Linked DNA regions of Homo sapiens: region 1 is linked to region 2. Evidence: promoter capture Hi-C in human tissues and cell types (Jung and others, 2019). All regions are on one chromosome and are shown on one strand. The core of a region is centred on a gene start or on the middle of the fragment in contact, and the rest is flanking DNA. Distances in the headings are between cores, read along the strand shown.

The links. The method cuts DNA at HindIII sites, captures the fragments that hold promoters and counts their contacts. A contact is called where the count stands out against the background at its distance.
Region 1: a fragment that was not itself captured here is called in contact with the fragment with the promoter of C20orf141 in region 2 in 2 of the 25 tissues and cell types used here (adrenal gland and mesenchymal stem cells).

What each region holds. Positions count from the first base shown.
Region 1 is chr20:2,905,033-2,909,216 of GRCh38, reverse strand. The region is part of intron 1 of PTPRA (protein tyrosine phosphatase receptor type A); the gene reads right to left. Among named protein-coding and RNA genes, the nearest start is that of PTPRA, 34 kb to the right of the region's middle. The HindIII fragment of the contact is 8,451 bases long and covers 1-4,184 here.
Region 2 is chr20:2,813,445-2,817,628 of GRCh38, reverse strand. C20orf141 (chromosome 20 open reading frame 141) reads right to left here and starts at 2,642. Exons shown (of 3, transcript NM_001256538.2): 1 at 2,612-2,642; 2 at 2,185-2,477; 3 at 1,799-2,091. The coding sequence starts at 2,444. The coding sequence ends at 1,854. TMEM239 (transmembrane protein 239) reads right to left here and starts at 1,265. Exons shown (of 2, transcript NM_001167670.3): 1 at 1,214-1,265; 2 at 1-1,085. The coding sequence starts at 1,074. The coding sequence ends at 616. RefSeq lists a silencer at 709-768. The HindIII fragment of the contact is 18,533 bases long and covers 1-4,184 here.

The DNA of each region.
Region 1 (4,184 bases), core at 390-2,889, 93 kb before region 2:
CCCAGACTCAAGGGATCTTCCCTCTCAATCTTTTGAAGGTTAAATAATGTACATTATACAGTCTGACACAGTGCCTTACACATAACTACTTAATAAATGGTACTTACATGTTATTATTCTGATCCTTGTTGAACTGCTTTTTGATGTGTTCTGGTTATCCATAATTGGTAATCAGCCACTGTACTGACTGGCAGAGTGGAGTGGCTTATATAGCTTTCCACTGCTGCTCAGTATCCCACAAATCACAGTCACAAAGTTATAACTCAACAGCATGTTTGGTGCCACACATGCATATTGTCATACTGTGACATTTTATTTTTTATTAATGCATAACTGTTATCAGTAACTAAAAGTCGTTATTATTTTGACATTTTATTAGTACATAACTATCATTAGTTATTAGTGCATAACCATCATGTCGAAACAAAAACAAATGCACTTTGAATGTCATGTTTTTCATTTTTTTTAATTTTGTATTTTTTTAAAACTAGAGATGGACTCTCACTATGTTGCCAAGGCTGGTCTTGAACTCCTGGGCTCAAGCAATCCTCCCACCCTGGCCTCCAAAAGTGCTGGGATTACAAGTGTGAGCCACCACACCCAGCCTGAATGTCATGCTTTTAAGGCACAGTGGAGGGTATGCATTATTTTATCAAGACAAGATAGGGAAGCATTTTGTTTATTATGCAATGACTCTACGGTCATCCCTTGGTATCTGTGGATCAACCGTGGATACCAAAATCTATGCACACTCAAGTCCCACAGTGGCCCAGAGGATACAAAAATTTCACTGTTCTGTATCTGGGGGTTTCCTCAAATAACGTATTTTTGATCCACGTTTGGTTGTATATGTATAAACTGCTGATTGTATTTATTGAAAAAAAATTCTCATATAATTGGACCTGTGCAGTTTGAAACTGCGTTGTTCAAGGAGTCAACTGTCTGTCTGTGCTAAAAGAATTCAAAATACATCAATGTTACCAAACTAAGGACCGATCACAGTATTTCCGATTCACAGGAAAGCAATGGTCAGAAAAATTTGAAAATTTAAAGTGGAATATTTCATTACAGCAAGGAGGGAAGGTAAGGAATAGAAAGTTTGTAAAGGAGGGAAGTTTCTAAGTAGCTCATTTGTTAGCAAAGCAAGAAAAGTAATATTCTAGTGATAAGTGAATTAAATCATGAAGAAGCTGAAGAAATGTATCCAGAGAAAATAAACTTGTTTAAGAGTATTAATTAGCCTTTCTCTAGGCTTTCTCCAGACAGGTAACAAAAAAATTATTTTTTAAATTTAATATAAGATAATTTAAAAAGAAAAAAAGACTATTAGCCTTTCAACAAAATCATTTGCTCTAAAAGTCGAAAATATTAGGAGCAAGATCAATAATCTGTTTAAAAAAAAAACCAAGGCAATTGAGGTTAAGTAGATTTCCATCTCTTTTGAATGAGTTTGATAGATGTTACAACACTGTTCAGATGTTTATTCAAGGAGTCAGTGCCAAGTTTAAAACAACTGAAGAATTAGCTTCTATGAATAGTCTGTGTTGAACAACTACAAACAAGAAGGTGAAAAAGTACTAATTCCATATAACCTAAAGTGGAATCTCAGATACGTTATCATTGATAATGGTAAAAATATGTGTGAAGCAGAAAAAGGCTTAGTTGGGTGATTTATAAAACGTGAAAATGTAAGGTGGTTATTCATGTTTTTTATCAATAGATATTCTATGAAAAATATCTGAATTTATCATGAATTATTAAACCAACCATGTTAATGGTGAATTTCATTCACTGCCATGGGCTTAACCATTGTCAGAAACAGAAGCTGAATAACCTGACTTGCCCAGGCACACAGCAGTTTGACGGCTGAGCTGTACTAAAGTTTTATCATGCTTTTTTTTTTTTCTTTTCAGCTTGGAACTGAGATTGAAATTTTTCACAACAATAAGACTGCTTTCAGACACTATGATCAAACAATAAATGGCTTTGAGAATTAGCTTTTGCTAATTTTATAATAGTAAATTCAACTTAAAATTACAGGACAGAACAACACTTATATATGAAACTTAAACTGTTGTTATTTAGACAACTAACTTTTGAATCATAAGCAACGTTGAGCTGCTTTATACACTTTACATGCTATCAAAAGTTAAAACAAGAAGTGAGATCTCCATTCCCAAACAAATTTGCAGTGGATATAGTTTCTTAGCTCACACTACATTTCCAGAATAATTTTTAGGACCTTAATGCACAAGGAAATATCTATATTTCAGTATCTATTTAACAGTGCAATTGTGGAGCTTCTGTCTAACCTTCCATTGGAAGTAATTAAGCAGCAATGAATAATATACTAAAAGGTAAATGTTATAAGAAAAACCTAATTCTATAAATGCTTCCTGAGTTATTAATATGCTCAATTAAAATCATATGTTTATGGGCTGGTATCAATTATTTGACATGTATGTGTGAAGACATGTCAAAGATGAAATATATAAAACCTCATTACAGACCTGCATTAATAGATAAATACTTGCAATCAATTTTGATGATTATTTATTGAATAGGAAGCACTAACTCTGAACTCCAATTAAGAAAATGTTATCACTCCGAAAAGAACTCCATTCTTCTCATTAGTATACCTGTATTTCAATAAATTGTGTTTATTATTTTGAATTTAATCAATTAAGAAATTTCTCAAAATTTGTTTTCTCTCTTGTTATATCAGAACGTACGTATTACCCTTGATTCTACTTCAGCCTGCAAAATCTAAAATATTTACTATCTGGCCCTTTATAGGAGGATCAGATAATTACTTCTTTGGAGAAAGGTTTTCTTCAGCCGAAGCATATAAAAGCTTGTCCTCTATCTCCTTCTGGGATTGGTAAAAACTTATCTAACACAAATAGGACTCAGGGCTGACTGGTTACATGAAAAAGTACAGTATATCAGGTAATTTTAAAAATGTAACTGAAATATTTGATTTTTACTCAAAACAAATACATGTCACCTGCCAATATTACGGTAAAAAACCAAGGCCTCTTCTTTAAGTACATTTCTACTAATTAATGTTTCAAATGTTCTCTCTTGCATATTCATTACAAATATATCATATCCATAACCCATCATATCCATAATCCACATTTGTGATTTCAAATTTCAGTTTCTTTAAATGGAACAAGAATCTAGGCAACTGTAAGACAACTGAGTATAGATCGTTTAAGAATTTTACGAGGTCAGGTGTGGTGGCTCACACCTGTAATACCAGCACTTTGGGAGGCCGAGGCGGGTGGATCACCTGAGGTCAGGAGTTCGAGACCAGCCTGACCAACATGGAGAAACTATGTCTCTACTAAAAATACAAAAAAGTAGCCAGGTGTGGTGGCGCATGCCTGTAATCCCAGCTATTCGGCAGGCTGAGACAGGAGAATCATTTGAACCCAGGAGGCAGAGGTTGTGGTGAGCTGAGACCACACCATTGCACTCTAGCCTGGGAAACAAGAGCAAAAAAAAAAAAAAAAAAAAAAAAGAATTTTATGATTTCCACCCCCAATCTTTCAAAATATTCACGCCCACAATTAGTAAGACAGTAATTTGGTGAAAAGGGGAAAAGGGGATTTGTATTTATCCAATTTGTTCAAGATCTACAACTTAATTTTCCTAAAAACAACTACTTTTTGCAGTCATATTTCATTAGTTAATGTTTAATTAAATTATAAAATTACAGTACTAAATGTAACTGGCATAAGCAGATTTGGAACAAACATACTGACCCCTGGAAGTGTAAAATTCAACTAGTGAGAGACGAAGGCAAGATGTGCTAGAGAGCAGCCAACCAGCCATGAGTGTTCAACTTTTCTTAGGAAACATTCAGTATATTCTAGAGGAAGAATAGAGTGTGGTTATTTCTGTAATTTGATTATATATACTCTATTATCAGCGGTCTCCAATCTTTTTGGCACCCAGGGACCAGTTTTGTGGAAGACAATTTTTCTATGAAATGGAGGGGTGGAGGATATGGTTTCAGATTTTGGGATGAAGCTGCAACACCTCAGATCATCAGGCATTAGATTCTCATAAGGAGCACACAACCTAGATCCCTGGAGTGTACAGTTCGCAGTAGGGTTTGTGCTCCTATGAAAATCTAATGCTGCTGCTGATCTGACAGGAGGCAGAGCTCAGGTGTA
Region 2 (4,184 bases), core at 1,393-3,892:
GACTTGGGGATGCAGACTGAGGCAGGAAGTAGGAAGTCTAGGGAGGAGGATGCGTGGGCTGCAAGGTTTGGAGAGCGAGTGAGTTGAGGTCTCCTGGGGCTTCTGGCCAGCCTTCTCCCTGATAGATTTTTGTCACTGGGACCCTCTCTAGAGTCTGTGGTTCTCCTGGAAGTGGAAAGAGGGGATTGGTGGGAGGAATGGCAAGGCCAGTGGTACCCAGGTAGAAGTTCTCAGTGAGTCTGAAGCTGAGACAGCTGAGTGGCTATGAGAAAAAGATGCTGTCAGTTGCCAAGGGGGCCCCACGGGTATCATCACATCCATATGGGCGCTATCAGTGGCTTGGTCAAGCTCTGCCCCTGGCTAAGCAATTTTCACCAATGGCTAAGCCATCTGTCTTGCCCCCTCTTCTCAAAGCCCCCAGCCCCTCACACCAGGAACCTGCAGCATTGACTTGAGGAAGGAGTCCGGGGTCAGGCCAGTCTACCTGTTAGGGACTAGGGGTCTGGGCCCTGCCAAGGCAGGGAGCCCTGATCCCATTGCCCTCCCTCTCCCCGTGGGGTCTCAGGCCCTAGGCCAGGGCTCAACAGACACAGGCAGTGGGATGGGGTTGCCCTTCTATTGATCCAAATCCTGAGTGTCGCCTGGGTGAGTCATGGAGGTGAGGAGGCCCACAAGGCTCAGCAGTGTGGAGAAGAGCAGCAGGAAGGAGGCCGTGAAGAGGAGGGCAGGCAGAGCACTGAGCACCAGCAGCAGGAGAGCCGGTAGCAGGTGGCGCCACACCGCGGCCACGACAGGCCACAAGGAGCTCAGCAGGTGGGAGCCAGTGGTGAAGAGTGCATGGCACAACATCAGTGCCAGCAGCAGGTAGAGTATCCCCTCCAGACCCCACAGCAGGCGCTGCAGCGGTTGCCGCCAGTTCGAGGTGCTCCACCACTGGATCCAGCTCGGGGGCATGTGGCTCACCCACCAGCGCACCCAGCCATGCCTCGTGACCCAGGCTGACCAGGGCACTGCCTGCTGTGGCCCCTCGCCAGCCCCGATGGTATCTGTCTCCACTCGCGGCTGCTGCATCATGTCTGGTGCACCTGGGGAGAGGGCCAGGGTCTTGAAGATGCCTGGGACCTTGGGGGGGGGGGGCAGAGAGGGGGTGCAGGGGTCAGGAGGGCACCAGTGTGCGTGGGGTGGGGCTACAGAATTAGGGACTGGGACTTACCTCTGGGCAGTTACCTAAGTCATGTTGCTTCCTGCAGCGCCCAGGACGGCCTGGCAGGCAGATCCAAGTCCCCACTCTCATCTACCCCCACCCTCCCCAGAGGAGCCCCTTTGTGACCCGGGCTGGGGTGGGGTCCAGCCAAGAGAGGAGTCACTGTAGGGTGTGAGGCCCACCCAAGTCCCTCTGCACGGACCCTCCAGGCTGGCAGGGGAGCCTCGGAGCCCCGCAGATGTAGTTTCTCATGCTTTCTCATGGGAAGCCCTCCCTGGATCCCTGTCCCTTTCCTGCTTTCCCTGCTGGCTGATATCCACCCCTTTCCAAACTGCTCTCTCGCAAGTCTTTCTGTCTGGACCTTCATTCTCTAGAGCCACAGAGGAGGCCAGAGTGGCTGCCCCCAATCCACAGGCTCTGAGGTGGCTGCCACATTCTTCCTTGGGCTCCCTGGCTAGTATCCTACCTTCTCTTGCTGCCCAAAGACTCAGATCCAGGTATCTGATACCTATATTATAGGACTGTGAGGTTCAGGCTGGGAAGAAAGGGGTATCATCCCACCTGCCCAGCCAGGAAGGAGAAAAGGGGGCCTGATGAAGAAGGGTGGTCATTGTATATTTGAAGGACACTGAGTTGTGGGGAGGGGCTCTCAGGCCCAAGGATGGAGGCAGAAAGCCAGGCCAAGCAGGGTCAAGGGCATGCCACAGGCTCTCAGGAGCGGGCCCAGCCCCATGAGCAGCAGCAGCAGTGCGTCCTGGAGGCTAAGTTGTCCTGAGACTGTACCCATTTGCAGGAGTAGAGCCTCCTGCTGTCCAGGACCTTCACCGGCCCCCTGACTCTGGCCCCTGGTGAGAAGTTTGCGCTGTGGCAGAGTGTGACCTGCGGGCCTGTGGAGAGAGAGGGTGGTGACTGGGCTTAGGGAAGTTGTCCACTGGCCCGCCCGCCTACAATGCCCACCTGCCAGGCTGCTGCCCACTTACCTATGGAGCAGGTCAAAGGTGAGGAAGCTGACCAGAAGCAGCAGCAGGGCTGGGCCAGTGGTGGAAAAGACTGCCTGGATTGTCAGTCCTAGTGCCCCCAGCCATAGGACACTGTCCAGGAGCTGGGCCCAGCTAGGGCCCCAGGTGGATACAGGTGGACGCACTGGACTACCTGACCCCTCCCCAGCACCCAGGCCCCTTGGAGGAACTGGGATCGGATCCTCACGTGCTTCGGGTCTGGGTAAGCAGAGCCGGGTCATGGAGAGAGGTGGAGGTGACGGGAAGACCTAGTGCTGAAAAGGATTATAAGGGTGAGAGTAGGGGAAGGGGTAGGGCCCGGGCAGACAGAAGGGTGAGCTCAGAGTGGGGAATTAGGCTCCTGCAGAGTCTCCCCCTCCCCCATACCCACCCAGCAAACCCTCCTCACCTCCTCCCACTTTGGTCAGCATTCTGGGAGTGGGCACCCGGGGCATTGTGACCTGTTACCACGTGGGGCCGTGGGGTAGGGAGGGGGCTGCTGCTGCTGCTGCTCTGACCTCATAAGCAGCTGGTGGCCTAGGTGGGGCTTAGCTGGGAAGTCAGGGATTTCTGAGAACTAAGACTCATCCTCTTGCCTTTGCTGATTCTCTGCCCTAGGGCCCTCCCTTGGGGATCTGAGTTGTCAGGAAGGCATTCTAACCCCATTACTACTTGGGCATCTGTCCAAGGGAGCGAGGTCTGCTTTCTTCTTCCTGTGAGTTTGCAGAGCTGCAGGTCCAGGGCGAAGTCATTCAATATCTCTGTCCCCAGCTGTCTTCCCTGTGGGTCCTTCTAGGGGATTTTTCAGGCCTGAAGTTCCAGATTGCAGAGATGGGCTCTGCCAGGGGACTGCCTGAGGCTTCTGGGGCTGGGCTTCCGCATAACCTGCTAAATGGGGGTGAGAGAGGAGGGGGCTGTTCAGGTATTCTAAGCACTACAGTTTATAGGGGGTGTTATGCATACTGGGGTTCCAGTAATGAGGTAGAGGACATGAACTTAAGAGGACTATGACCTAGTAACCCCCTTATTAGAGGTTAAGGTTACAGTCTGAGAATGGAGTTAAGGAAAATGAACATATAATGAAGGGCTTAGTCACTTGGATTATCAGTATATCAGATTACACTGATCATCTGTAAATGGGTGGTGGCCATAGGGGTCCAGCACATCTCAGTTTAGTGACTTGAGAGGCAAGAGCGGAAATGTGTCATAATTAAGAGAACTTAATCTTTGCCCACATATCATACTTTGAAGGAAAACTGGTAGGGGTGGCAAAATGGGAGACAGTGGCCATACAGCCCCTAGGAGAGGAGGAGACAGAACAAGAATCAGGCTGCATATCCACCTCCAGCAGGCCTTGCCCAGAGACGAGGGTCACCAGCCCTAATGACCATGCACTGATCGCCCTTGGTCTGGCTGTTCTTGCTTATCCAGCAGCTGGGTTTTACGAGTAGATTTGTCCGTAATGGGATAGGGTATAACAGAAGATCCCAGAATTTTTTTTTTTTTGGCATTAAGTTCCAATTGTGCTTGTAAAGGAACATTAAGGTTTAAGATTGGCAATTCCCTGAGCCTGATCAATCCTGGATGCATCCACACAATTGCATTCCTGGACATACAGACCTGGGGAGCATGTCCTGATGAGTCCACCAAGATGAGGCTACTCCATATTGCAGGGCATGGGGGGATCGGAGAGTCTAAAGCTCCTTAAAGATTTACTATGCACCAGGTGCTCTGTATGCATGTATAGGAGAGTTCTGTCTGTGATTTTCTCAGAGTTTATTTTGTATTCAACAATCATTTATTTAAGTGCTTCCTATGTGCCAGGCACTGCACCAGATGGTGGGTGTATTAGGCCATTCTTGCGTTGCTATGAAGAAATACCTGAGACTGGGTAATTTATAAGAAAAGAGGCTTAATTGGCTTGCAGTTTTGCAGGCTGTACAGGAAGTAGGGTACCAGCATCTGCTTTTGGGGAGACCTCA